4 separate regions of the Homo sapiens genome follow, and all the other regions are linked to region 4. Evidence: promoter capture Hi-C in 16 types of primary human blood cells and fetal thymus (Javierre and others, 2016). All regions are on one chromosome and are shown on one strand. The core of a region is centred on a gene start or on the middle of the fragment in contact, and the rest is flanking DNA. Distances in the headings are between cores, read along the strand shown. Region 1 overlaps ASPH (aspartate beta-hydroxylase). Region 2 has its middle 15 kb from the start of MIR4470. Region 3 holds the start of TOX (thymocyte selection associated high mobility group box). Region 4 holds the start of CHD7 (chromodomain helicase DNA binding protein 7).

Evidence for each region. The method cuts DNA at HindIII sites, captures the fragments that hold promoters and counts their contacts. A CHiCAGO score of 5 or more calls a contact.
Region 1: a fragment that was not itself captured here is called in contact with the fragment with the promoter of CHD7 in region 4 in 1 of 17 cell types (neutrophils); the score reaches 9.1 in neutrophils.
Region 2: a fragment that was not itself captured here is called in contact with the fragment with the promoter of CHD7 in region 4 in 1 of 17 cell types (neutrophils); the score reaches 5.0 in neutrophils.
Region 3: a contact is called between a fragment that was not itself captured here and the fragment with the promoter of CHD7 in region 4, in 1 of 17 cell types (fetal thymus). The highest score is 6.2, in fetal thymus.

The regions. Positions count from the first base shown.
Region 1 is chr8:61,696,340-61,703,058 of GRCh38, forward strand. The region is part of intron 1 of ASPH (aspartate beta-hydroxylase); the gene reads right to left. Among named protein-coding and RNA genes, the nearest start is that of ASPH, 15 kb to the right of the region's middle. The HindIII fragment of the contact is 8,420 bases long and covers 540-6,719 here.
Region 2 is chr8:61,725,890-61,733,175 of GRCh38, forward strand. No RefSeq gene overlaps it. Among named protein-coding and RNA genes, the nearest start is that of MIR4470, 15 kb to the left of the region's middle. The HindIII fragment of the contact is 4,439 bases long and covers 3,818-7,286 here.
Region 3 is chr8:59,115,387-59,122,018 of GRCh38, forward strand. It overlaps TOX (thymocyte selection associated high mobility group box), which reads right to left and starts at 3,761. Exons shown (of 9, transcript NM_014729.3): 1 at 3,500-3,761. The coding sequence starts at 3,601. It overlaps TOX-DT (TOX divergent transcript), which reads left to right and starts at 3,824. Exons shown (of 3, transcript NR_149031.1): 1 at 3,824-3,899; 2 at 4,571-4,685; 3 at 4,950-6,632. RefSeq lists silencers at 398-447, 4,286-4,505. The HindIII fragment of the contact is 3,027 bases long and covers 640-3,666 here.
Region 4 is chr8:60,677,301-60,683,632 of GRCh38, forward strand. It overlaps CHD7 (chromodomain helicase DNA binding protein 7), which reads left to right and starts at 1,440. Exons shown (of 38, transcript NM_017780.4): 1 at 1,440-1,782. RefSeq lists silencers at 988-1,427, 1,788-1,887, 2,548-2,917. The HindIII fragment of the contact is 9,178 bases long and covers 1-6,332 here.

The DNA of each region.
Region 1 (6,719 bases), core at 3,500-5,999, 1.0 Mb after region 4:
ACCCATTTATATCAGCCTCCAGGTATTTTTGGAACCTTTACTATCCTTTAGAATACCCAGCTAAGGAGCTACTGCCCTAGCCCACACCTCTGTGCTAATACCGATTTACTGCAGCAGAGAATGTGAATCAAAATATGGGTCCACCCATGCCTGTCATACGAATTTGTGATGGACCCAAACACCACTGATAAGAAGATAAAAACACAATATAAATAGTAGTTAACCTCACAGGCTAGTTCCTCAAGCCAGGCCTAATGAGTCGGCTCTGCAAACGTAATTATTTCTCCCTACAGAGCACTCAATAGAGAAGACGGTCTCATAGAAAAAAAAAAGCATTCCTCTGAGCTATTCAATTGTCCACATGGGTGGGTGATAATTATTAGCATGGTGTTCAAAATAAGACAGTCTCTCACTGGCCTGAGAGAAGCAAAAGGTGTAAAGGAAGATGAGCTATGTCCACTGAGAAACTCTGAGGTGGTGAAAGAAAAGTTATTACAATGAATAAAAAAGGTTATTTTTTCAAAACTAAGAAACAAAAAAGCTTAATCCTGCTTTAACTCTAAATTTCAAGGCAATGAGACAAGGACACACTGCCAATATGGACAACTAACACTGGTTTACAGCTGTGTCCATGAAGACTCTTTGACTTTAACCTATTTTGACAGCAAAAGATCCATGGCCCTCCTCCCCACCAGTTCCCACTTTCTGGAGCAAAAGAATCCAGCATTTAAAATAAAGTGCCCTACAGATGCAAATGGGGAGGAAAGTGAGGGATTACAAAAATTCATTAGCACAGCATACACAGAAGAATCCTGTAAATTATAAAACACACGTCTTACAGTTGAGTTAGTAGAAAACCATAGGTCAAAAAACAGTTGATACAATTATGAATTATAATACATCTTGGGGATATTATAAGGATATTGGGAAAACTCTATATTTTCTCCTTCTGTACTCTCACCCCACAGTCAACACAGAATATTCCTGCAGCCCCTGGTCACTAAAACATGTGGGGATTTCTCCTCACCAGCAAGTAAGCAATCAATTCTGCAGCCAATCAATTCTGCAGTAGACACCAGCTGGCTGTCCTCTAATTCAATTCAGTTCTGACACTATCTACTTGCAGATAGTGTCAGATCCCACAGGTTGAGGGCTCAGTCTCACAAGACTGTCTCTACTTCTGAGGCCAGTCACAAGTAGTAGGTTGTCACCTATACTTCAGACCAACTGGCTATAAATCGGAGTTCCCAACACCCCCTCCTCCAGTTTGATTAATGCGCTAAAGGGGTTCACAGAACTCAGAGAAACACATTTACTAGTTGATTATAAAGGATATTACACAGGATGCAGATGAACAGCCAGATGGAAGAGATGCATAGGGCAAGGTATGTGGGAAGAAGTGCCAAGTTTCCATGTGTTTAAAGAAAAACTTTGGCCAAATTAAAATTATTTTATTTGATTTTAATTTAGACAGAGTCTCACTGTGTTTCCCGGGCTGGAGTGCAGTAGTGCAATCAGAGTTCACTGTAGCCTTGAACTCCTAGCCTTGAATGCAATCCTCCCACCTCAGCCTCCTGAGTAGCTGGGACCACAGGCATGCACCGCCATATGCAGCTAATTAGAAAAAAAAAAAATGTCTTGTAAAGACAGAGTCTTGCTTTGTTGCCCACGCTGGTCTTGAACTCCTCCTGGCTTCAAGCAGTCCTCCCACCTCCACTTCCCAAAGTGCTAGGATTACAGGTGTGAGCCACCACACCTGGCTGACAAATTAAATTTACAGAGTTTAATTTAGCAAAGAACAATTGTTGAATTGGGCAGGACCCAGAAGCAGTTCAGAGACTCCAGGGCTGCCACAAGGTCAGGTAATACTTATGGACAGAAAAAGGCACAGAAACAGCTGGATTGGCTACAGCTTAGTGTTTGCCATATTTGAATATAGTTTGAACAGTTGTACCCCTGTGACTGACTAAAATTCTGTGACTGATACAAGGGTAGGTTACAGTCTGTTTATTCATTTAGTTACGTTACGATTTACTACATATGGAAAAGCCTTTAGGCTGAACTTGAAATAGGCAAGGAGGCAGCTTTAGGCTAAACTTAAACACATGTCATGCCCTCTTTGGGCACACTGTCTCCTCTATTAATCTTTGTCAGCTATCTGGAAGCTCCAGGAACCATCTTTTTAGTTTTTTATGGACACTTCATTACTTAGGAATGACTGATTACATCAATGGTCACTAGTGATCAAGTTAACTTTTAGCCCCTCTCTCCTCCCAGAGGTTGGGGGTGGGGCTGAAAGTTCCAATCTTCTAACGATGCCTTTGTCTTTCCTGTGACCGGCACCCATCCTGAAGCTATCTAGGGGCTGTTAGCCGCCAGTCAATTATTAGCGAAAGACACTCTTAAGACTCTGGGAGACCACAAGGGTTTTAGGAGATGTATGTCAGGAAACAAGAAGAAGACCAAATATATATTTCACAATATCACAGATGGCCAACAAGCTCTTACTAAATAAATTAATAATAAAAGTGAGTAACAGTAATAAACACCAACAATGGCTGCAACTAAAAATTGCATAAACAATTAACTTTACCCAAAGAGAAGTCTGGTCTTTGCCCTTGGTTACTTCAGTGGGGTCTCCAGATCCCAGGAATGTTCTGCCTGATAACAGTGTCTTTGCCTGGGGGCTTTGGCCACTGGACAGCCTAACCAAGTGGGCGCTGGGACATGCCATATCAGTTGTGATCTCCAGAGGACCCTGGGGACCCCAAAATTATAGCTGGTGCCTGAAGTGAGGGCAGTCTTGTGAGAACTATTCCTTCAGACTGTATGGTTTGCCTAACTTCTTGCAGAAAACATGATCAACTGAATAAACAGGTGATGCCCTAACAGCGGCCTTCACCCTAACAGCATGAAGTCTGACTTTTCCTACATACAGATCAGTAAAAATTTCACAACTTTGCCAAAAGCTAAATAACCACACTTCTGTAGAATAGTGAATCTCATATTTCAATCTACTTGGTAAGGTACAAATATTTGTTTATAAATTCCAAAAATCCCTCGCCATAAGACAAATGAGAGAGGGGTACTGCAGGTACTGCAAGGTAAGTTTCTTGTTTCATGGGCCTCAGTAAAATGAAAAATAATGAATAAATGAAGTATATTATCTCATGTCTCTTCTAATTCTAAAAATTCATTATTCTAATTCACAAAATCTCGACTCTTTAAATTAAATCACCAGACAGTTGCAATGAGAAAAAAAAAATCAAAAAGTTTCTCTTAACTGTGAGTTTCACTCTATCAACCCTAGAAAATCCTAAGAAAAATTTTTAAAAAGCAGTATTATAGAGGAAGGCACATAGTTTACTTGCAAGACTGTGAAAAAAAATTCCATTTTATAATAAAAACTTAAAAAATTTCTAAGAGAGATATCAAGAGTTCTCTGCAGGAGAATGCCTGTCAGAGACCAAGGGTGCCTGCAGGGAGATTGACTTCTCATTCCCCAGTGGATGTCCACTCAAGCAACGGACTCCATGGCCCACCCTATGCCTAGTTGAACAGCAGAGGGAACTGGGGAATGACGGCTACAGAGAAAGGTGACGGCTACAAGGGAGCTCAAGCTCCAGGCAAAATGTCAGCTTCCCACAAATCCAAGAGGGCAGCAGGGAAGTACCAGCGTTTGTACCATTTTGCCAGCACCTCACTCAAAAGGGCTGACTGACACACAATGGGCTCCCAAGAGCAAGGGGGGATGAAGTATTCTGCCAGGAGTGGAGGCCCAGGGGATTGAGGGTGGACCAAGTCATGTGTCACAGGGAGGGTCCATACCAGGCCTTTCAAAGAACTCACATGGGCAGTGTTTGAGCACCTGTCACTTGTGAATAACCATGCCAGTCAATCTTATCAACTTAGAGAGGAGACTGAGAGGGGCCTCACCCCCTTTTCCTCCCCAGCACAGCCCCAAAGGCAAACCACAGGAAAGCACACTCACTCCTTCCCCTCCTGCCCTGCTGCAAAGGGGAGACAGGAACATAAGCACCGAAAATGAGATCAGCTCTAATCCAGACAGACTTTTAAAAAGAGTGACTGAGATGTTAAGTTCTGTCCCAAAGATGGTCAAGATCCTCTGCTACCAAGAGCAAACAGATTAATCTATCCCAACTGTGCACAACGAATGGAGAAAAATGAAGCTATTTCCTGTTAGCATCCAGGCAGATAAAGATGCCTCAATAAAATGGCTACAAAATGTGCTTCCATATGTCGGGCTCAACCACAGGAAATTGTCAGTTTCTGACCCACAAAAATGGCTATTTCACAGGAAACAAACAACGTAAGAATTTCCCCAATGTTTTACTATGAAAATTTGCAAAACACAACAAAGCTGAAAGGATTCATAACACTTAGATTCCGCTACAATATTAACATGGTATTATATTGTTTGTAGCATACCTATTCATCCCTTTACATCATCACCTTGTTTGTATAATGCATTGCAAAGTAAACTGTAGACATCAGCACACATCTCCTAAATAATTCGGCATGAGTATCATAAACTATAGTTACACATTTCTTTATAGTTATTTAAAGTGAAATTTACACAAAATGAAATGCATAAATTTTAAGTATACATTCCCTGAGATTTAACAAGTGTATACAACATGTAACCCAGATCCCTATCAAGATCTAGAACATCAATATTTCTGCTTAAATTCCCTCATGGCCATTTCCATTGCACCCCATCCCCAGCCTCAGAGGTGGCCCCACTGTTCTGCTTTTTTTCTCACTGTAGTTTGCCGTCTGCCACAACTGAAAGATAAATAGTAAGATATTGGCTGAAGTTGGTGAAGATGTGAAATAGCTGGCATTGAAAATACGAATAAGCATAAGCTAAAAGCACACTAAGACCACAAGGCACTGGTGAAGGACCAGCTGAGCAGGAAGGTGTTGAACATACATAGTTTATTTCAAGTTTACTCCAAATCAGTAAAAGTACTTAAGCTAGTGAACTGTGCTCTTACTCAATGTTACTCTATCCTACCCAGTCATCTTAAATGTCTCACTGATAACAAGGTAATTCTAAAAATTAGCTTGGGTACTTATTAACACAAATAGTGTACTACTTCTAGAAAAAAACTATAAAATAAATACAAGGGGCTTAAGAGTTTTCCACCTTCATATAAGTTAATTTCATTTTAATAATGTTACAAAGCAAATATGTGATTGAAACATTGGGCTATGTTTGGATCCATGCCAGGCTCCCTAGGTCTCCAGGTATATTTACTGGTTACAACTAAACAGATGGACCAGCTAGAAACCACCAAATAATCAAATAAATCTTAAGATTCAAGAAAATAAGCATTATATTTTAGTCATGAAGAAAGTTCAATTTTTAACAAACCAATGTACCTATTGCTAGTTATTACCATTTAAGGAGGAAAATGAGCAGCATATCAAGTCAATTAAACCAAATTACCAGTATTAAATGGCTTACCTTCTCACAGATGTTAGAATATCCCATGTATTTTATAAAGAATTTTTACTTTAATAAACTTAGCAAAACATTCTTAGTAGCTGAAATAGTTACAATTTAAAGAAACTTAGTATTTAGTCATTTTAAATGGAATTTTATTACAAGGTAATACTAGACATACAATAGCTATATTCTGTTTACAAGAAGCACTAAAACCATACACAACTTTTTGCCAGTAAGTTTGAAACTTCAAAGACAGAAAACGTTTTAGAAAATATAACTTACTCAAATGTACCTACCAAGAGAAAATATAACATAGCAAACCTAACTCAAGAAGACACAGAAATTTTAAGTAGTCCTGTAAACATTTAAAAAGCAAAGGCAGTTTCCCCTCATGTCTACCCACACCTCACCCAGTGTTGGGGTAAAATGACAAAAAGGTTCCAATGAGTTTTACCAAATAGCTACTTCTTTTTTTTTTTTTTTTTTTTTTTTGACAGAGTCTCGCTCTGTCGCCCAGCCTGGAGTGCAGTGGTGCAATCTTGGCTCACTGCAAGCTCCGCCTCCCGGGTTCACGCCATTCTCCTGCCTCAACCTCCTGAGTAGCTGGTACTACAGGTGCCCGCCACCACACCCGGCTAATTTTTTTTGTATTTTTAGTAGAGACGGGGTTTCACCGTGTTAGCCAGGATGGTCTGGATCTCCTGACCTTGTGATCCACCGGCCTTGGCCTCCCAAAGTGCTGGGATTACAGGCATGACCCACCGCGCCCAGCCCCCCAATAACTACTTCTATACAAACTATGCCAAAGAACAGAAAAAGAAGAAATCTTCCTAAATTCATTTATGCAGCTAGAATATGACCTTGATAACAAAACCAGGAAAGAAAATGTCGGGTCAGTTTTACTCATGGATCTATTAACTAATCCAATAATACTGAAAATATATAAAACCACCACGCTGGATTCTTCCCAGAAATGTAAGGATGGTTTTAAATTAGAGCATCTATTGTTATCATTTACCATCTAAAGTATGGAAGGAGAAAAACCAAATATATAATATCAATAGGTGCAGAGAAAATATTCCGTACTAATCACAATTCTTAAGGAAGTAAGAGGAGAAGGAGAAGCAGGGGGAGAGGATAGGAGAGGAGGAGAGGAAAAAAGGAAGGAAATTACAGACCCACATCTAACATAAACACAGACGCAAAATTGCTGACAAAATATTAGCAAATAAAGCAATATATAAAA
Region 2 (7,286 bases), core at 4,787-7,286, 1.1 Mb after region 4:
CCCATCCATGAGGGCTCCACCCATGTAACTCAATTCGTTCTTAAAGGTCCCAATTTTTTTTTTTTTTTTTTTTTTTTTTTTTTTGAGATGGAGTCTCGCTCTGACACCCAGGCTGGAGCGCAGTGGCGTGATCTCAGCTCACTGCAACCTCTGGCTCCTAGTTCAACTGATTCTCCTGCCTCAGCCTCCTAAGTAGCTGGGATTACAGGCGCACTCCACCACACCCAGTTAATTTTTGTATTTTTAGTAGAGACAGGGTTTCACCGTGTTGGCCAGGATGGTATCGATCTCTTGACCTCATGATCCGCCCACCTCGGCCTCCCAAAGTGCTGGGATTACAGGAGTGAGCCACTGTGCCCGGCCACCAAGTCTTAATACTATCATGTTGACAATTCTGTTTCAACATGATTTTTGGAGAGGACAAAAATATTCAAACCATAGCACCTCCAAAGAACCATAGCACATAAACAGATACGTAGTATATCTATAGTATTACATTTTCATGGGATGAAGGACAATTATGAAAAAATAAACATCTAAAAGGCTTCTTGTGGGGATGAGTAGGGCACTAATTTTAGAAAAGCTTGAGAAACTCATAGCCAGGCCACTGTTCCTTCTATAGTGACACTTCCTCTTTACTCCATGGTCCTGAATATTATTTTATTTATTGTTTAGCTTTCTCTTCTCTCCTCTTCATATTTTCTCCTTTTCTTTTTCTATAATCAGTTCTTCCTTCCATTCAACCATTATAGTTTTATGAGGGCTAATTTGTTTTTTTGATTTTTGATTTGTGTAAATGTCAGGGGTACAAGTACAGTCTTGTTATATGGATACATTACGTATTGTTTAAGTCTGAGCCTTTAGAGTATCCATCACTTGAATAATGTACATTGAACCCATTAGGTAATTTCTCAACCCGAAGAACCCTTCCACCTTCCCAAGTTTCCAGTGTCTGTCATTCCACACTGTATGTCCATGTGTATACATTATTTAGCTCCCACTTATAAGTGAGAACATGTGGGATTTGACTTTCTGTTTCTGAGTTGTTCCACTTAAAACAGTGGCCTCCAGTTCCATTCATGTCATTGCAAAAGACATGATTTCATTCTTTTTGATGGCCGAATAGTATTCCATTGTGTATATATGCCACATTTTCTTTATCCAGTCATCCATTGATGAACACTTAGGTTGACTGAATATCTTTGCTATTGTGAGTAGTGCTGTGATAAACATAAGAGTGCAGGTGTCTTTTTGAAATAATGATTTCTCTTCCTTTGTTTAGATACCCCCTGAGTGAGATTGCTGAATTGCATAATAGTTCTATGTTTAGTTCTTTGAGAAATCTCTATACTATTTTCCATAAGGGTTGTAATAATTTACATTTTCACCAACTGTGAGAGTAATAATTTACATCCTCACCAACATCTGTTATTTTCTGACTTTTTAATAATAGCCATTCTGACTGGTATGAGATGATATTACAAGGGCTAATTTGTTTTTAGTGGATTACTTATGTTCAGGCACTATACTTTCTAATATGGGTGACTGTGAAACAGGAAATATAATCTCCCAAGTTTATTTTTTTGTCTAAAAAACGAAATTCTTATTTAAAAATCAAATGCATAAAGGCAGTTTTACTTATATATTTGTTTGTTTGCTTTTTAGACAGAGTCTTGCTCTGTTGCCCAGGCTGGAGTGCAGCAGCGTGATCTCAGCTCACAGCAACCTCCACCCCCTGGGTTCAAGTGATTCTCCTGCCTCAGCCTCCTGAGTAGCTGGGACTACAGGCACATGCTACCACACTCAACTAATTTTTGTATTTTTAGCAGAGATGGAGTTTCTCCATGTTGGCCAGGCTGGTCTCGAGCTCCTGATCTCTGGTGATCTTCCTGCCTCAGCCTCCCAAAGTGCTGGGATTACAGGAGTAAGCCACCATGCCCAGCCTTGCATTTTTTACTTATTACTGAAAAAAACCTTTTTATGATTAGTTATCCATCTATTTATGTACATATGTACAGTTGGAATTCATTCCAAGGGCTTGCAGTTGAGCTCTCGTTCTATTTTATTATCTACATATGTATATAAATAGATGGAAATAGATATTAATGACACCGGGCATGGTGGCTCACACCTGTAATACCAGCACTCTGGGAGGCCAACATGGGAGGATCACTTGAGCCCAGATGTTTGAGACCAGCCTGGGCAACACAGTGAGACGCTGTCTCTACAAAAAATAAACAAAAATTAGCCAAGTGTCATGGTGTGCGCCTGTAGTCTTAGCTACTTAGAAGGCTTAGGTGGAAGAATCACTTGAGCCTAGGAGGTAGAGGCTGCAGTGAACTGAGATTGCACCACTGCACTCCATCTTCAGCAACAGAGCAAGAACCTGTCTCAAATAAATAAATAAATAATAGACATTAATGAGCAATGAGCATTTATTATGTGTCTGGCGCTAGTGCTTGCTTTACATGAGTTTATTGTCACAATCCTCACCTCACCCCTATGAAATAGATGTGATTGTTATCTAAATTTGATGAACAAGTAAACTGAGGCACCAAAAATGTTCAAAGTCACACATCTAATAGTCAAGGCCACGCATCTGATAAATGGCAGCTTCAGGATCTGCACCCTGGCAGTCTGGTGCTAGTGCACAAGCTTTCCCCTTCACATGATCCTGATGATTCTTACCCAAACTTGGAGACTTTGCAGGGGCTTGCACACTTGAGCTCTTGTTTTCCTGAGAGCTAACATAGGGGACTTAGGACCCAGTTCCTGAGGTCAGCTGTAAATGTATTTCCAAGAGCTTGCAAAATTCAGGGAGCTGAAATGGCTGTGGGGAGGGATGATGATGGACCCTGCACAAAGGTGGGATTAAGAATTCTGAAAAGCACAGGAAAATCCATACTGGAAAGATGATGGGATGTAGTCCAGAGGTCAAAGGTCAAGAGCTCTTATGGGAACAGCAATGGGCAAACATGCTTAATGTTGAACTGGCTACTTACAAGTGACACCTTGCAGGGAGGACATGTGCTCTATGTCCTGATGAGAAGAAATGCTAGAATGCTGAAGAACCCTACCTCCAGAGACCAGACCCTGCCCAAGGTCCTACTGGTCTTCATTAAAGGCAGCATGTCAGTTAGGATCCGAGAGAGGCAGATGACAAGACAGAATCAGACATGTAAGAGGTATATTAAGAGAAACACCTGAGAAGGCTGAAAGGGCAGGGAGCAGGAGTAGGGGAGGGAATATTTGGCCTGTGATGCAGCCTGATTCTTGTAAATGGAGAAAGAAAAGGAAAGAGGACTGGATAGGAGGAGCCATAGATGGTTCAGAGGAGCTCACAGAAAACCTCAACTAGGCCAATGGGAAACTCTGGCAAAGTGTGATCGTTAGAGCTCTGTCCTATACTGGGCAGAAATGGCTGAGGTCTGTTACTGCCACCATACTTAGGGTGGGAGCAGTGGCCTTTGGTGTAAATGCCAGGACAAATCTGAAGGCGTGGCAGCCAGGGTCATTGGCCAACTGAGCTTCTCGAGGCAAGCACCCTTCAAAGGCAGTCTGAGGGGTGCACTCCCATGACCACCATAGGCACTTACTCTGGGCTATTTTCAAACACCTCACTAGGTGTCACTAGCCCCACTGAAAGATGGAGAAACATGCTCAGAGAGGGTGAGCAACGTTTCAGAAGTCACACAGATTGTAAATGGAAGATGGGATCTGAACCAAAGTCTGTCTGTTTCTGTTTGAACACATGGCCTCTCTAAGATATTTGTAACCATATTGAGGTGCTTAATAAATCCATGAATTAGGTAAGGGAAGCTTTGAATTACCATAGGGCAGAGAAGAGGCATTTCAGACAGCATAATTTCATCAATAAGCTCAAGCATGGAAAACGAACTAGCAAAAACTTCATATGATCAATTCAGATAGTAGGTCATTGACATTCATGATTTAAAATTAATGGTTTCAACCATTTGTGAGACTCCCTGGTTTGTAACTCAAAATAAATTCAAATTTTATTAATAAATACAGTTGAATATTCCAGGAATAAGCAAGCTGATATTCCTGAAAGGCCTACATAGCCAGAGAGAGAACCTCATAGCTAACTTACGAACCTTGCCTCGACTTAGCTTCCTTATCCTGAGTCATTGTCTCACATTCAGAAATGTTCATAAGGTGAACCAAGCTCTATTTCTTCTTGAAAAGTGGCCAAAAAAGAAGCTGCTAATGCTAATGATGGAAGTGAAATACCTAAAGGAGTCCTTAGCTAAAAATGAAAAGGTTTAGATGAGTTAGAGTATAATGCCAAATTTATCTGTGGACAGAGTCATACCCCAAAGGGGTTTACCATGTGGTCCTTTAAGAAAAAGATATTTGAGACCCCATTTCCAGACAGTGCTCTGACTACCACCAAAATTGCTCACTGAGCAAGGGAGAGATCTTTAAGGGACTAAAAAGGAAGAGGCCAGTTGGCTGCATTTTATGTCAAATCTTGTAGGCTATGGGGATATGTGTGAATTTGAAAGATTCCTAAAGGTCCTATATTTATCTCAAAAAAAACCATTAAAGTCAAGGATCCACTGCATTGTGGTTTCTTGATTTCTCTCCATAGACCTTCTCCCTGCTTAATGTTTTCATTTTAGAAATGGTCCCACCTTTCACGCAAATGCTCAGGCTCAGAAACTCATCCTCTCCTTTGATGCTGTTTTCCTTATAGCACACATTAAATTCTGCAGCAATTTTTTTCAGCTCTAAATGGAAAATTTATCCTACATTACAGTCACCTCTTTTCTTTTCACCTCTATCACAATTACTCTTTCCTAAACTGCCACCATCTCCTAAAAGAGCGTCCTGGATGATCTTCCAGTTTCTGTAATTCCTCTGAGAGACCGTCCTCCCCACAGCATCCACGGTGATTGGCGGGAAGCCTAAGTCAGAATTAGCAAACAGCAAAAAGCCTTCAATCATTTTCTACTTGATTTAGAAGAAGTCCAAAGTCCAATATAATTTCCAGTTAATTGTAAAAACCTATGGAGAAAACAAAATCAAATATTCTTATAAAGCATGAGTAGGAGAGGCTAATATAAAATGGTAGACAAGAAGGTATATCTAAGAAAGTGGTGTTTAAAAGAAAACATCCTGTTCATGGCCTATAAAACCATATGTGACCTAGTCTTTGGATTCCTTTCTGACTTTATGTCCTCCCATGCTCGCTCACTCTGGTGTAGCCACACTGGCTTTTGGGCTTTCTCGAACGTGACAGATATGCTTCTACCACAGGGCTTTTGCATTTGCCTGGGACCCTATTTTTCTACACATCCATAAGGCCTCTCTCCTCTGTTCTTAGAGTCTGGAGGTCATGGACACACAGAGGCCTTTCCTGACACACCTATGACCTTGTCATTCTGTCAATCTCTACTTTCTCAACCTGATTTACTTTTCTCTCTGGTGTTTATCACCATGGCATTATAGTGTATATTTGTATATCTTTCTACTTCAGTATTTATTTATTATCTGTATCTCAGCATGGAAACATATACTCCATTAGAACAGAGAATTTGTTTTGGTCATTGTCATTTCCCCAGCACCTAAAACATACATAGTGCATAGAAGGTAGGTACTCAATAAATATTCATGGAATAAATAAATAATGACTGTCTGGACAAGGTGTGTCCTGTCTAATTAGTTGTTTAGGAGAAGCAGGCACTGGAAAGTGGGTGAAGGGTTTGTGGATTGTTTAGAGGTACCAGTTCCATTTCTTCTCCTGTGGCTACCAGAGGCTTCCCTAGCCCGTGGGGGTACAGGATGTGGCCTGTCACCATTGGATACCCAGAGCACATTGATATACTTCCTGATGGAGTGGTTTATGTAGACAGCTGGGAAGAGGAAGCTATGGGTAGAATTAAGCCATGAAACAAAGCCGGCTTCACAGATAATCACATTCTCTTAAAAAAAACTGAAGATTCAGGATTGCTGAGACTGATGGGTGGCATTTGCATACTTCTATGAATAACTTTTGCTTTGTATTATACAAGCAGACAAATTCTATTATTCCTGAAGATTTCTCTTTTTATTAAAGTTTCAATCACTTTTAAGATGAATGTACCACATTTATATGGCTATTGCTTATTTTGAATAATAAAACATTTTACTCTCAGTTGTACAAAATATTAGCAGTAGCTGAAAACAGCACAGACTTAAATTATGCAAGAGGTAGCAAAGTCACCTTTTCCTGAGATAAAGTTATAATGAACAGTAACATGTTAGAGCCCAGTGAACATACTCTATCTTCATATTTTAAATGTCTATTGCCTACGTGGAATTTGGCAAACAGAGACTACTGACAATTAAAGAAAAATATTAATTCATGTTTTAGAAGGTAATCATTAAGCAAAAATATTTACATCAAATTCAAAGTGAGTTTAAAACAGGGTGACACTTTTTTCATTCATTCAGTAAGAACACATCATTTGTTCTATTTATTTTGTTTATTGAAATGTGATCCAATATTGAAATGTGTTGGTTATTTTTCAGCTAATCTTATTCAATTTTATTAGTTTTTTAAGTTGTTAAGTGGGTTATGCTTTCCATACAGGTAGTAAAAATATCAGTGATTGCCAGGAGCTTGAGAGAAAGGAAAGAACACGTGAAGCACAGGAGAGTTTTAGAATGGTGAAACTATTCTGTATGACAATACAATGGCAGGCCACATGACATGATGCATTTGTCAAAGCCCATGGAATGTACAACACAGGGAGCTCTAAAGTTAATAATGGACTTTAGTTAATAATAATGTATAAATACCAGTTTATAAACTGTAACAAGTGCTTCATGCTAATGCAACATGCTAATAATAGGACATTGTGGGGAGATAGAGAAGTTAGGAAAGGGAGGGTGTACGGAATTCTTTACTTCTGCTTAATTTTTCCTGTAAATCTAAACCTGCTCTCAAAATATAGCCTGTTAATTGTTTTAACTTTTAAAACATGACCCAATTACATAGGGTCTATAAGAAGTTCAGTTCAAATATAACAATATAAGTAGACTCAAAAGAATGGAAAATGGTATTCCATGTAAACATTAGAAATCACAAGAAGTAGATATTAAAAAGAAGTAAAGAAAATTACCTGGGACAGAAAGGGACATAATGATTAAAAGGTTCAGTCCAGTCCTGATTATAGGCATCAGGTAGCTCATGCCGATAATCCCAGTGCTTTGGGAGGCTGGTAGGAACATTGCTTGAGCCCAGGAGTTTGAGATTACAGTGGGCTGGATCACTGCACTTC
Region 3 (6,632 bases), core at 903-3,402, 1.6 Mb before region 4:
TGCACTAAGAAACTGAAAAGAACTGTTATTACTCTGTAGGTATATATTTAAACTGATGATCTGACATCTTTAACTAGAATAGAAAACAAGACTATATCACTACAGAACTCCAATTGTAAGCTCATTTAATCCAATTTATTTTGGTAGCATTCAGCTCAATTAAGGGATACAATGTTACTTAAAATAGTCTAATTAGATGAAACTCCACTATGGTACTCATCTTTCAATGTCTGAAATATAACCATGCATTAGGCTGCAAGAGGTGAATACTGTTAACTCCAGCCTCCATGTGTCTGTCCAGTCTATGAGCTACACTGCTATTTCCAACACTGACCTATATACAGCAACATGCCATCCGTTCTGGCTGTTTGTGTAAGAGATGCCTCACACACTTGCCTTAACCAACATCATTCGCATTGTTCCCACAATGGGCTATGTGAAAATGGAGGCTACTTTGCATAGTGATATGTTCATAACGTGTATTAGTCTTACAGTAGAGCAATACTAGATTAAACCGTTTCCAAAAATGCCTCCTCCAGAGTTTATTAACTGAAAAATGTAAGTAGCATTTTGGCAATCTATAGAGCAGCAGTGCCGGAAAGTGTCAGCAGAGTAAAACAATCACATTTTAGTTTAGAAAGCTTCAGGAAGAGAATATTCATTTTCTCCATTAGAGTCTCTTCTGACATTGAAAAAAATGTCACCGGGAAACTGTAGCTACAGTTGTAGGATTCTAAAGCACAGATAGATACTGGTTCCGCTGGGATTTAGCACACCAACTTTAAATAAGCAAAGTGTTGACAGGTTTAAAATAAAGATAATTAGTAATTTATGATCTTATCACCCTATTAAAAACAAATCACCTGACAAACTGACTGCTATTTGTAGTAAGCTACATATTCATTACGCCTCCGAAGGAAGCAAGATTTACTTTGCAGTATTGTTCTTTTGGGGATGTCTGATCCAACTTGTTTTAATAAATGTAGGCACAGATTTCTTACTTCACCTTTTCCAAACTTCTGTCCTTCTTCCATTTCCCTGCAAATCCACTCATGTCATTGCAAAAACAAATGCTAGTTGACTGCATTATGCACAACTACAATTGTGGAGCTGGACAGAAATTTTGTACCAATGCTAATCATGGTGGAGTGAAAAAACTCAAGTGCCTGGGATTTGTGGGGCCTAGAAAACTATCCAGTACATTTAATATAATCGGGACCAGTGACAAATATATCTGATGGACTGCTACACAGAGATGGGCCAGAGATGTCCCTGGAGAAACATTTCCATGAAGTCTTCTTCCACTATTAGAAACATGTCTTATGACTTTGGATTTTAAAAAATCTATTATTCTCTGGATAAGTTAAATAGAAGACTCGCAACTAGTCTACAGAAAGGGTGCCTAATTTGCATTTAAAAAGAACAGTTTGCTTCTTATACACGGGGTGACTTAAAAGGAACTTCAATGAGCTAGTAAAGAAATTCTGAATACTTTCTAAATTAATTTATTCAATTCACAGCACAACCCACTAAAATTATTTAAAGCACTTAATTGGAAAATGATTTAATATATTGAAGTAATTCCTGATTTTCCAAAGCATTTAACTTTTAAATTAAATCTGACCCTACTTATCACAAGAACGAGGAGTGAAATGTGTATCCAAGTCATTAACTTCTTTTTGGGGCCTAAAATCACTGATAAACTTAATAAGATTTGTCCAGTCTCATTGCCAAAATAGTTCTGAGCTTTTGGTTCCGGTAACTACAGTGGAATAAGTCTTTACTCTCCAAGATAGGGCTGCAACTTTATTATTTTTTATTAGCAATAGTATTGGTGTCATAAGCAAAATAAAACGTAACACAATACTTGAGTGTACAGACAAAACAGATTTTAGACTAAAAGAACTATGTCACCAGCAAATAATGAAACTTCATCACACAAACTCCTATGCGCTTGCCAAAGTTCCCCGTACCTTTCAACTTGCCCGTAGCTGAAGGGCTCCCTGTACAATGGAAGCCCTTCTGCCTTGCTCAAGACTGGATGTCCCTCTTTTCTAACTTGCCTAAACACCATCGGCACACAGCACAGTCCTTTGAGTGGGTCTCACACTGGACACAGCATCGAGGAGCTTCTCCACGGGGAAGTGTGTGTGTGAGAGCCTGCCTGTGTGTCAACACTGTCCAAGACTCGGAGCTGCGACTCGGTCGCGTGGTGCGGAGTCCAGGGCTGAGAAGGCAGCGCACTAAATATCTCTGTATCAGGTAAAAAAGCCGTTTGGTGATGACTCGCCACCAGGCAAATGTTGGGAGTCCCAACGATTTTTCCCGTGGAATGCACCGAGGGTCGCCATGGATGTGCCTGCAGGGGCTGTGAGTATCAGGCAGATTTATCACCAAGCGAGAGTTGGGCGTCTAAAAGGCCCGCCCAGCGTTTTAGAGAACTCAATTCTCTCTGCCAACGTTCATCCAACGGGACTGCTTAGACACGTCCAACTAGCCCTAGGCGTGGGCAGTCGTGCCCCTGCGACCACTCTGGGGGACCGGTCCCTGCGTGTCCTCCCTCTCTGGGATGAGAGAGTTCGAGAAGCCGGGAGAGTAACCCCCTCCCTCGTACCCCCTGACTGTCCTATAGGTGGACCCAGCCGAACTCCGCAGCAGCCCAGGCCAGCGCCCCACCTCCGGGTCACCGGCATGATCCGCCTCTCCCCGGGCCCCCGCGGCCCTGGCACCCGAGGTCAGCGGGCCGTGGGTACAGCTCAGCCGCGGACCCTGCTCCGCGAGTGCGGGAGCTTTGGACTTGAACGCGACGTGCTCGCCCGGCTCCCAACAAACTTGCAATTTCCGCGCGCACCCCTTAAACAGGAACTGTTCCCCAAACCTTGACCCAGCTACCCCGCTGTGCTCTGGCCCGCGGACCTGTGTCCGAACCCGGGCTCGGCTGCCGGAACCGGTTTGAGAAAACAAAAGAGTTGTGGGGCAGTTTTCCCTGTGGGGGGCAGGGGCGCCTCCCAGGTCCCTGCACCCCGACTCCCGGCTGCTCCCCTGGCAACTAATCCGGAGAAGGGAAGTGGTGCCACGAGCCCCCACTGCCCGGGGAGGGAGGGAGAGAGAAGGGGGAACTGGGAAATAAACTGAATTCTCTTACTCTGCCTCCGTTCCTGGACCCCAGACACACCCCCAAAGTATTCCACGGTTTTCTCTTATTATTTTTTTAAACGCCCCCCGGCAAACCTAGGCAGGGATCCTTAGCCGCGAACAGCAGGAAGGAAAGAATCCGAGCAAATCGTGTCACTTTCCGCACAATCGCGGTGTTTGGCAAGCCCCCGGAGCTACTCCACAATATTTACTACCCAAGCGCACGCAGGCTGCAGCGGGCTGCGAGCCGAGCGCGCCCGGGACCGGCCTCCGCCAAGCCGGCCCCGCCGCGGCCCGGCCACCGCCGCTCCCCTCCCAGGATCAAGCAGCAAGAACACGGTGGAAACAAAAGCAGAGCGTTCACCTTGTTGCAATAGTAGGGGTCCAGGCAGGGAGAAGGTCCCAGACAGGGAGCGTCGGGCGCAGCGGCGGGCTGGGCTGGAGGTGGATAAAATCTTACGTCCATTTCACTCTCACATCAAGCAACTCCTTTTCTTTTTCCTTTTTTAAAAAAAAGTGTTCAGCAAAACAAGCTTAGACGGAACAGAGTGAGGTGTCTGGGCTCAGGAGTAAAAGAAACACCTTCCTTCCCTCACATCCGTTTGTGGTTTGTTTAAGAAGAAGAGGAAAAAAAAAAAAAAGAGGGGGGAAAAGCGCTCAACTCTCCCCCAAGCCGCGGCGCGCACCCGTCGGCGCCGAGCGCGCAGCCTGCTCCACCGCCGCCTCTTGGTCCCGCCGCCGCCGCTGCCGCCGCCGCCGGGCAGGTAACTTCATGCGCTCATTGTCCCCCCCGCCCGCCCCCCCATCCCCGCCTCCCGCGCCCCTCGCAGCCCGGCACACGCGCTCGGGCTCTAGGTACTGGGCGTTTTATTGGAGATTCTGAGTTGTTCTGCTTGTAGTTTATTTTCTCCACCTTGGAGGCCCGGGATGTGGGGGGTGGGGGGGTGGGGCGGGGATCCAGAAGGGACAGGGCGGGAGGGGGGCGAGCGTCCCGGGCCGGGCGGGGTAGGGAGCGCGGCCGGACGCGGGCTCGTCAAGGCCCAATGGCTGCTGTTCGGAACCAGAGGCCGGGGACCGGAGAAAGGAGGAGCGGAGAAGGAGAAGGAGGAGAGCACGGCCTGGCTGGGACAGAAGCGGTGGGACCCTGGGAGGCCTCCGCTGTGCCCGTGCCGCGCTCCTCGGGACCAGCGCGTCGCACACAAAGGGGCTGCCGAGCCAGAGCCACCAGCGGCCTCAGGGCACCGTGGGGAGCGCGCAGCTAGGGGGCGCTGTGGCGCACCCCGCCCCGCAGCCCCGCCCCCGGCCCTCCCCGGCCCCACCCCACTCCCACCGCCCTCTCCGCGGCCGTCCCCACCCCTATCTCCGCGACCCCCACTCCTCCTCGGCTGTTCCCCAACCCTGTCACTGTGCTCCCCTCCCTACTCCCGGCCCGTAGTGGAGGTGACTTTCCTGCGCAGCGCCGCTTCTGAGGGCGGAGAACCCACAGGGAGTGCGACCCCTTTGCACGCTGTGAGTGGGCAACTGTCCGAGGGACTCGAGCCGATCGAAGGGTGAGGACCAGCTCGCCTGGGGGTGGACGGCCTGGAAAAGCCGCCCCTCTTTGGCTTCCCTCTGCCGCCTGCAGCCCGCACCCCTCCGAGATTCGTGCCCCACTGGACGGTTTGCGAAGGCTGAGGCTGCCTTGGGGACTCACAAAAGACCACAGGGGTGATTCGAAGTGTAAATAGGGAAACAATCATCAGCACACAATCCGGCTAAAGGGATAACATATGAGTTTGCTTGTTGTCCTTCATGGGATTCTTCTCTTTTTATAGCTGGACGCCCTATAGGGCTCTTGGCAGTCCACGAAAGACCTGGAGTCCGCCTCCCCATTTCTCCGGTCGGTGAGTGGCAGGAGGAAATCGCCAAACATGTTTTCCCGCTTTGCCTCCCCAACTCGGAAACTTGCAACTTGCCGTGTCCTGGAGGTTGAGACAATTTGGGGTCTCTTGGCTGCCGTCCAACAGATTTATCTCTGAGGGCAGTGTCCTTGGTGAGAGGTCCAAGTAGGTGTGGGCGACATTGTCCTCCATCTCATGAGGGAGCAGCCCTGCACACTAGGGCCCAAAACTCTGCGAAGGAGCTTGGAAGTTCTTCATCCGTTCCACTTGTTTTGCTACTCCACACACCCTTCTAGGACATGTTGATTGCCAACTGCTCTGTGCAGCTTTCCCATAGCTGTCTGTTCCCGTGCATTTCGGAGCACCAAGCAAATACGAGCAGAGAGACCTGGAAAAAAAAATGATGAAGACAGTATTAATGATAAAATTAACATGGCTGAGTGAATTGTCAATGCAAGTTCCTTTACTAACTCTTTGTTAAGTTTTGCTTTGTACTCCTTACATCCTCTTTCTCTTAAGCCATTGTTTTAATTTCTTCTCGTTATCATTTTTAAAAGTAACAGAAATACAGCTTTCTTCCTACCTTCACGATTGACTTGGTGGAGGTTGGGTTGCAAAGAGGAAGCAGTAAGAAAAAATAATTATTCTATACATTCACAAGTCCTTCAAGGCACAAAATAAAAGTAAGAAATAGAAAATATGTCCTTTCTCCTAATAAAGGTCTTTATAATAAAATTTAAATGAAGTTTTGTGTTTCATAACAGCTTCCCAAATACTGTTGTAGATACTAAAATGTGCCTGTATGTATTTCCTTCCACAATAATAATAGTAATAATAAACTTTTTTAGGTCCAAATTAAACATTTCTCAGCTTAAATTTCTATCCTCAATCCAACATTTATTATATCAAAACTTGATTTTTAAAAATAAAACTTTCTTGGAATTCATCATTGATGTCTGTTTGATGGCCTCGTGAACATCAGGAAGATGAAATGAAATGGTTCAAGACTGGAACAATACCATTATCTGCATCTTGACTCCTGGGAGATAATGATATCTCCTGCTTTCCTCTACAGACCTACCAGTTTTCTCTGCTTTAAGGGAAAATCCAAATGCATGAGACCTGTGCATTCTTCTACATAATCAAGAGTCTGGTTTCTTCCATCGGAGTGTATGGAGTTAAAGTGGTATACTGTACATGGCATGGTGTGATAGGTGGGAATATGAGCTACTGGGGGAAAAAGTTCTTACTTCTAGCCACTTATACAAAGAGAGGCCATCTCAGTGTAATCTGAAAAAATGCTCACTTTATAATGCTGTATCCAAGGCCCATCAAAAACTAAATGGATGTATTTGTACTAAAAGTTGGGGAAAGTTGAATATCTAAACCTCTGAGCAAATCTTTCTTAATTTAGAAAATAAAATAGAGCATCATTGTAATACTTTTCAGTTTCCTGGACATTCAACTCCACATCATGGATAAATAAAATAGTTATTTGTCCATTCACTCATTCATTTGTACATTAATCAACAGAGAGAGTGGTGAAAAACACTAATGCTTTGTATTATTTATAGGTTTAAAATACAAAACAAATTACTTAAAATGGTTCCTGCTCTA
Region 4 (6,332 bases), core at 190-2,689:
GCAAGCTAAAAGCAGTGCATTTAACAAACCACAATATAATGTGATATATTTATAGAATTATTACTAAAATCAGAAAATCAATGTCTTAGTGATTAAGTCTAGGATAATCAAACTTATTGAATAGTTGCAGTAGTTACTTAATGAGATAGTTTTGATTAATCTTTTGTCCAAATAACAATATTGTGATTACAGGCTTAGCACTACAGGTAGTGTAACCATCAGTGAGTGAGATTAGTACATTTTACATAGTTTTGCTATTTTCTCAGTTTATTTTGGAGTCCAGTAATAACCAGTCAGTCTGTACCTGCCATAGGGCAATCTTTGGTTGATATGAGTTCCTTTCCTGATTTTAAAATAAGTGCAATCTTTAACCTAATAAAATTATCTTAAAGTTTACAATTGATGGTTTAAACACATTATAATTGCTCCGTATTTTGCAGATAGAAGAGGCTTAATCCATGTTTGTAGATCTATTTCCTAAAATAAAAATTAGTAAAAAAAAGTTTTTTTTCTTCAGGTTTAACATTCATTTTGTACCGGGAAGAGAAATGGAATAAGAGGCTCGGATTTTTAAGACTATGCAATCAGATACAAGTGCCATTTTGGCCAAAGAATGAGTAAAACATTCTAGTCCCGACACGTTTAATAATGGGCATACATCCTATTTCTTTGTTTCATAATCATTGAGCTCTCTGCCTTCTCTCTCTTTTTTGGTATGGTAACAAATTCGACAAAATCAATGCCATCTAGTTAAACTTTTTGATTAAGTAGTGGATCCGGTGTCCTATCCACGAAGAGGTGGGAAAAGCGATGTGGAGAAGCAGGCACGAACCCATCTGGAATGGAACATGTCCCTTCCGAATAATTTCATGTGGGAAAATAATTTCAAGTTGAAGGATAATTACTGCAGAGACTGCCAGTCACCCCCGGCCGCCGCCGGCCGCGCAGCGTCGGAAACCCTTCGCGGCAGCCAGGAGGGTCGCAGCCCTCCCGGAGCCCCGCTTCCTGCCCCGGGGCGGCGCACCCGGCTCCGGGAAGGTGCCGCGCGGGAGACGTGGCAGCAGCCCCTCCAGTCCGCGCCCGGGCGCAGCGGCCGAGCGCTCCGTGCAGCCGGGCAAGGAAGACTCCGCGGCAGCAGCGCACCGGCCGGCGGGGAGACCCGCCTGAAGCGCCGGCGCCCGCCAGGGGACGGGAAGTGGCGCCCGGCCCGCCCTTGCGGCCCGCGGCCCGCGGCCCAGCAGCTCCGCGCCGCCCCTTTTCTCTCGGCCTCTCCCTCGGCCTCCGCCACCCCGGCCGAATTCTTGCATAAATTATGCCAGGCGCGCCTGACGTCAGGTGGCGGCGCGCGGGCGCGGGCGCGGGCGCGGCGCGGCCCGGAGGGAGCTGGCGGCGGGCGCGCGCGGCCCCGCGGCTTCGGGTGCGCGCGGCGTGCCGGACGCGCGCAGGCGCTGGCGTGCTGGGGCCGCGGCGGCGGCGGCGGCGGCGGCGGCAGCGGCGGCGGCGGCGGCGGCGCGGGGGTTGAGTCGTGGTGGTGCGGACGCGCTCGTGCTCGGGAACTATCGGATTAAACTTGAATCGAGTGAAATTACACAAAGGAGCGCCGCGGAGGAGGCGGCCCGGGGACCCGGACACCCTGAAACTCACCAGAGACCCGTTCGCCCCCGGCCAACTCCGTGCCCGTGGATTCAGCCCCCTGGCCGCAGCTGCCGAGCCAACTCCGGAGCCCGCTCTGCGTTTTGTTTTCCCCTCGGCACTAGGCAGCGGAGGAGCCCGACCGACCCGGTGAGCGCGAGAGTTCGCCCGGCGCCCCCGGGAGGGGCGGCGGCGGCGGCGGCGGCAGGAAATCGCTCCGGGCCGGGGCCGGGGCCGCGCTAGGAGTTGGGAGCGAGGAGTTGGGCGTGTGCGGGGCGAGGGGCGAGGGGCGAGGGCGGGAGGGGGCCGGGGCCAGCGCAGGAGCGCAGCGCCGCCCGCGTAGTGTCGCCGGCGTCGCCGCCCGCGGGGCCCGAACCCGCGCCCCGAGCGCCGCCCGGCGCCCCAACTTTTGCCTGCGTCCGCCGGGCCGGCGGCGGCGGGGGCGCGCGGTGCGGCCGAGGGTCACTTCCTCGCATGTAAATGGCTTTTTGTTGTGCTGCCGGCGTGGGGGGGGGGTACGGGGGACAGGAGGGAGCGTGTCTGCGCGCGGGGGAGCGCGAGCGCGTTTCCTCCCGCCGGCGCCGAGCACGAGTTGCCGGCTCCATTCGAGAGAAAAAGGAAGGAGGAAAAGTTGGGCTCCAACTCAAGTGCGAGCGGGCGATGGGCGCGCGGGCGCGGGGCGGCTGAGCAGCGGCGGCGGCGGCTCGGGGACGGCGGCGACCCCCGCCTCCCGCCCCCGCCCCCCGCTCCGGACCGACCACGCCGCGCTCGCCGGGAGCTGCGGCCGCACCGGCGCGAACAAAGTGCGTTCCTCCCGGCGCGGCGGCGCCAGCCCGCGCGGGGACCGCCACCGAGCGAGGTGGGTCGGCGGCGGGGAAAGTGCGCGGGGCGCCGCGTGGGGCGGGGGCAGCGCGAACACGCGGCGCGGGAGGCGTCCCGAGCTCAGCCAGTGCCGGTCGCGGGCGCGGAGTTGCGAGCCCGGAGTTGGGGGCTCCTGGGGCTCCCCGGCGGCTCCCAAGTGCGCTAGGAGGAGAAGAAAGGGAGCGGGGCCGGGGCGAGCGCCGGGAGGCGCGGCGAGGAGGGGACCCCACCTTGTCGAGCTGGCCGGGCCGCCGGCGGCGGCAGCTGCATAATAGCGACTTTAACCTTCCAACGCAACTCGGCTCCCCCGCCCCCCAACCCGCCGGGGGTCAGCGCCGGTGGGGGGTGGTCACCAGGTGGCCCCCGAGGTGACCCGGGTGCGCTCTGCCCTCGCAGAGAGCCGCGGCTTGGAGCGTGAACGGCCGAGGTGGCTGGAGGCCAAGCGGTCAGCGGGGAGAGGAAAGGAGGGCGGTGGGGGACGCGTTGTTTGTTTGGTTCGCACCGGGGATTGGGCTCGCTGGGGGCGCGGGGCTCGGGCGGGGGCGCGGGCACCGGCTGGGCTGCGGTGCGGGGCGGGCGCGGCGGCGCGGGGCTGTCGAGGTCGCGGGGGGGGGGGGCGGGGGCGGCGGCGGCGGCGGCTCCCGGGCGGGGGTGGGGGCGCTGGTCGGGAGGCTCTGGGGAAGGAGCCGCCGGCCCCGAGCAGCCATCATTACCGAGCCGCCTTTCTCCGGATGGCTCTGCCTCGAGGAGCCCGGAGCCGTGGGAGCGCACCCCAAACTCCCGGCCGGCCGCCCGCTTTGTGAGCGCCCCCGTGAAGCGAGCGGCGCGGAGAGTGCTCCTGCTATGGGTCGGACTCTTTTCCTGGAGGTCACTTTTAGAGACTGCTCACGCCTTGGTTTAAACTAGTTTTTTTCCCCCTCTTCTGAACAGACAATGGACAAAAGAAAAGTAGCAACCCACATGGAGAGAGTTTCCTTTTGAATTGCTAGAATTAGATACACTATCCAGCGCTCCACTTGCTAAGTATACTTTTTAGTTTCCCATTGTATATTATCTAGCAATCGATTTAAATAACTTATCTTAAAAAGTGTCCCTTTTGGGGGCTTAATTTCTGGAATACATTACATGTCTTAATTTATTTTTAAAGGATTTTGTGAGGCCCTGATTTTTTATTTTCTAAAAATTTTAATTTAAGCCGTCTTTGCAGTGGGCGATACCTTTCTAAGGGGTTAAGTGTTATTTCACCCCAGTTCTCTCTCGGTAAGGGAGGGAGTACTCAGTATACGTAGTAATCGAAGAGGAAACAAAATACGTGTCTTTATTTCTTCACTGATCTTGTCTGACGATGACAAAAAATATCTTAGTGACTGTGACCTTAGCAGCATGGCTACCTGATTTATCCCAGTTATAATTATATTTAGATTGCAGTAATGTCTAAGTACAAGGTAATTCCTATTTCAGAAATAACTTGAGCAGTGATTTTACGAAGTTGAATCCTTCTCCCAGCCCCCAGAGTACATCTGTCGCGCAGTGTTTTTGTCTTGCTGTTGCACAACAGAAGCCCTCCAGTCTTTACCCTAAAATGGCAGCTTTCATTTGACTGAGGCCCATTCATTGACAATGATAATAAAGAGGCTGAAAGCTAGATGCTTGGGGCATGGAGTAGGACTTGGTTTGCCTTTCTAGGTGATAAGTAGGAGACATTTTATGTCTTCCAGTTTGCTCAGGAAAAGTTTATTTTCCCTGAAAAATCTGTCTTGTAGAAAAAAGTTATAGTAAAATAATTTGGAAATGGGTAAAGGCTTGAGCAGCAAATTTTAGAAGCTAAATTTTCTTATTTTGCCCAATAGTGGAAATATGGCATTCTCTTTTTTGGTAATCTGCTGATAAAAGGACATAATGGATTTTTGTCAGGCTTGTAACAGGTGAATTTCCTCATGCTGGTACTCAAGAATTGGGATTGTTTTCTAGCACTGTGGGTTTTTTTCTCTTTATATTTTCTAATTTTTTCTCCTGTTCGAGTCACTAAATTGAACCATGATGAATTGTATCCTGGGTCTATGCTTTCGCGATTGAAATGAGTTTTCAGATAAGAAATGAATTATAATTTTAAAAGACTGGTATATGAATTTTAAATTATTATATTCATTTAATCAATGGCCTTATTTTTAAATTAGTTTTTTTAAAAAGTTACTTTCTTTTATATGTCTTAACATGGAAGGCACAATACAGGAATGGTAGAGTGGTTGTACCGGTGATGTTTAAAAACCCAAATATTATTTTCCTCTTTCAAGGAAAGAAATAACTTTTTTTCCCAAGTTGAAAATATGGAAGTCAAATTTATAACAACGTATTCAGTAACTTAGTTTTAAAATAGTACTTTTATAGATTCACCAGTATTTGGTCTAGTTTTTAATCAGTTCAACTTACAGGAACATTTCCTAAACTTTTTTCATAATGAGCCTTCTTTCTAGGTTAGCCTTACTTTTATTGAGTTAAAATGAATACCATGAAGAGTACCTTTATAATACAGTAACATCAAGGAAATGTTACAACCGTTTTTCATACAGATGCGAAGTCAATAATATGTTATAGTTTTTAAGCAGTTAGGTCAAAATAACAGAAATATTTTGTTATGAGAAAATACACTGTAAATGCTTCTGTGTGCCTGCTGTGTAACCCATAAAAGCCATGTAAGTGCCAAGTTAGTGTAGTTCTTTCAAACCTAAGATTACAGCATTGTATTCCATATGCTTGAAAAAGTTTGCTTGCCACACAGTCACCATGCCTTTAGTTAACTTTGATTCAGCAAACCTTGGCAAGCCTTCCATGGTTAAAACAATAAAAGGCAGTACTTTCCTTTAGGGAGTGTACCATCTAATAGAGAGCAGTTCTATAGGTAAGCAAATATTCACATTTGACTTTTAAGATAAACTTATAAGTAATAGTTATCTTTCATCTTTCATTAACTAAATACAACCTTTTGGGTTTGATAGCAGACACCATGGCCATCTTAGAAACATCGAATATAAATGTGGCATTGCAAGAATAAAAATGTTTAGTCAGGTCTGAGCAAATGGCTCTTAAAACTTCAACTTTGTAAGACAGTGATTCTTTTTCAGTAAATGATTTCTACATGTAAAAAGTAAGCACATAGTCACATAGCTAAAATCACCAAAAAGGATGGAGAAGGAACATCTTAGGTGATATTAAGATGATGTCAGCAATATATTGGCTCTGTGGGACCCTTTCAATTGTCTTGTTCACTCATGTGGGCATATTTGTGTATCTTAAAAAAATCTGTTCTTTTCATGCGATTGGAAATTCAGAATTTAGCATTTTTCTAGACAGGTTTCCAAAACCATTATGGTTTCATTAGTTCAGGAGATACTATTTTCCCCTTTCTCTATAAAACTTTATTATTTAGTCTTTAAAAAAATTGTTGACATTCAAAGGTGACTAATGTTAAAATATAAAAGAAATTGAGATCAATAATCGCTTGGTTTTTCTACAAAAAATACAAAGATGGAATGATTTATTTCAATTTGGGTATCACTCAGGTTGCAGTGATGGCAGAGGTCCATAGCTGATTATGGTGGTTGTTAAGAGCTAGGAAGGTAATTTAAAACATCATGACTATGTGTCCATATTTTACTTTTGTCAATAGATTAAAAATTGTAAATGAAATCACATCTGCATGATAAAAAGAAGAAATAGAAACAGGAAGTTGTAATGATGTTGTCAAATAAAAATTCATTTTATCCTTATTAGAGAATGATTGGATATTTAGAGTGTGAGGACCTTAGAGAGCTAGTTGAACTTTCTCATTTTACAGATTA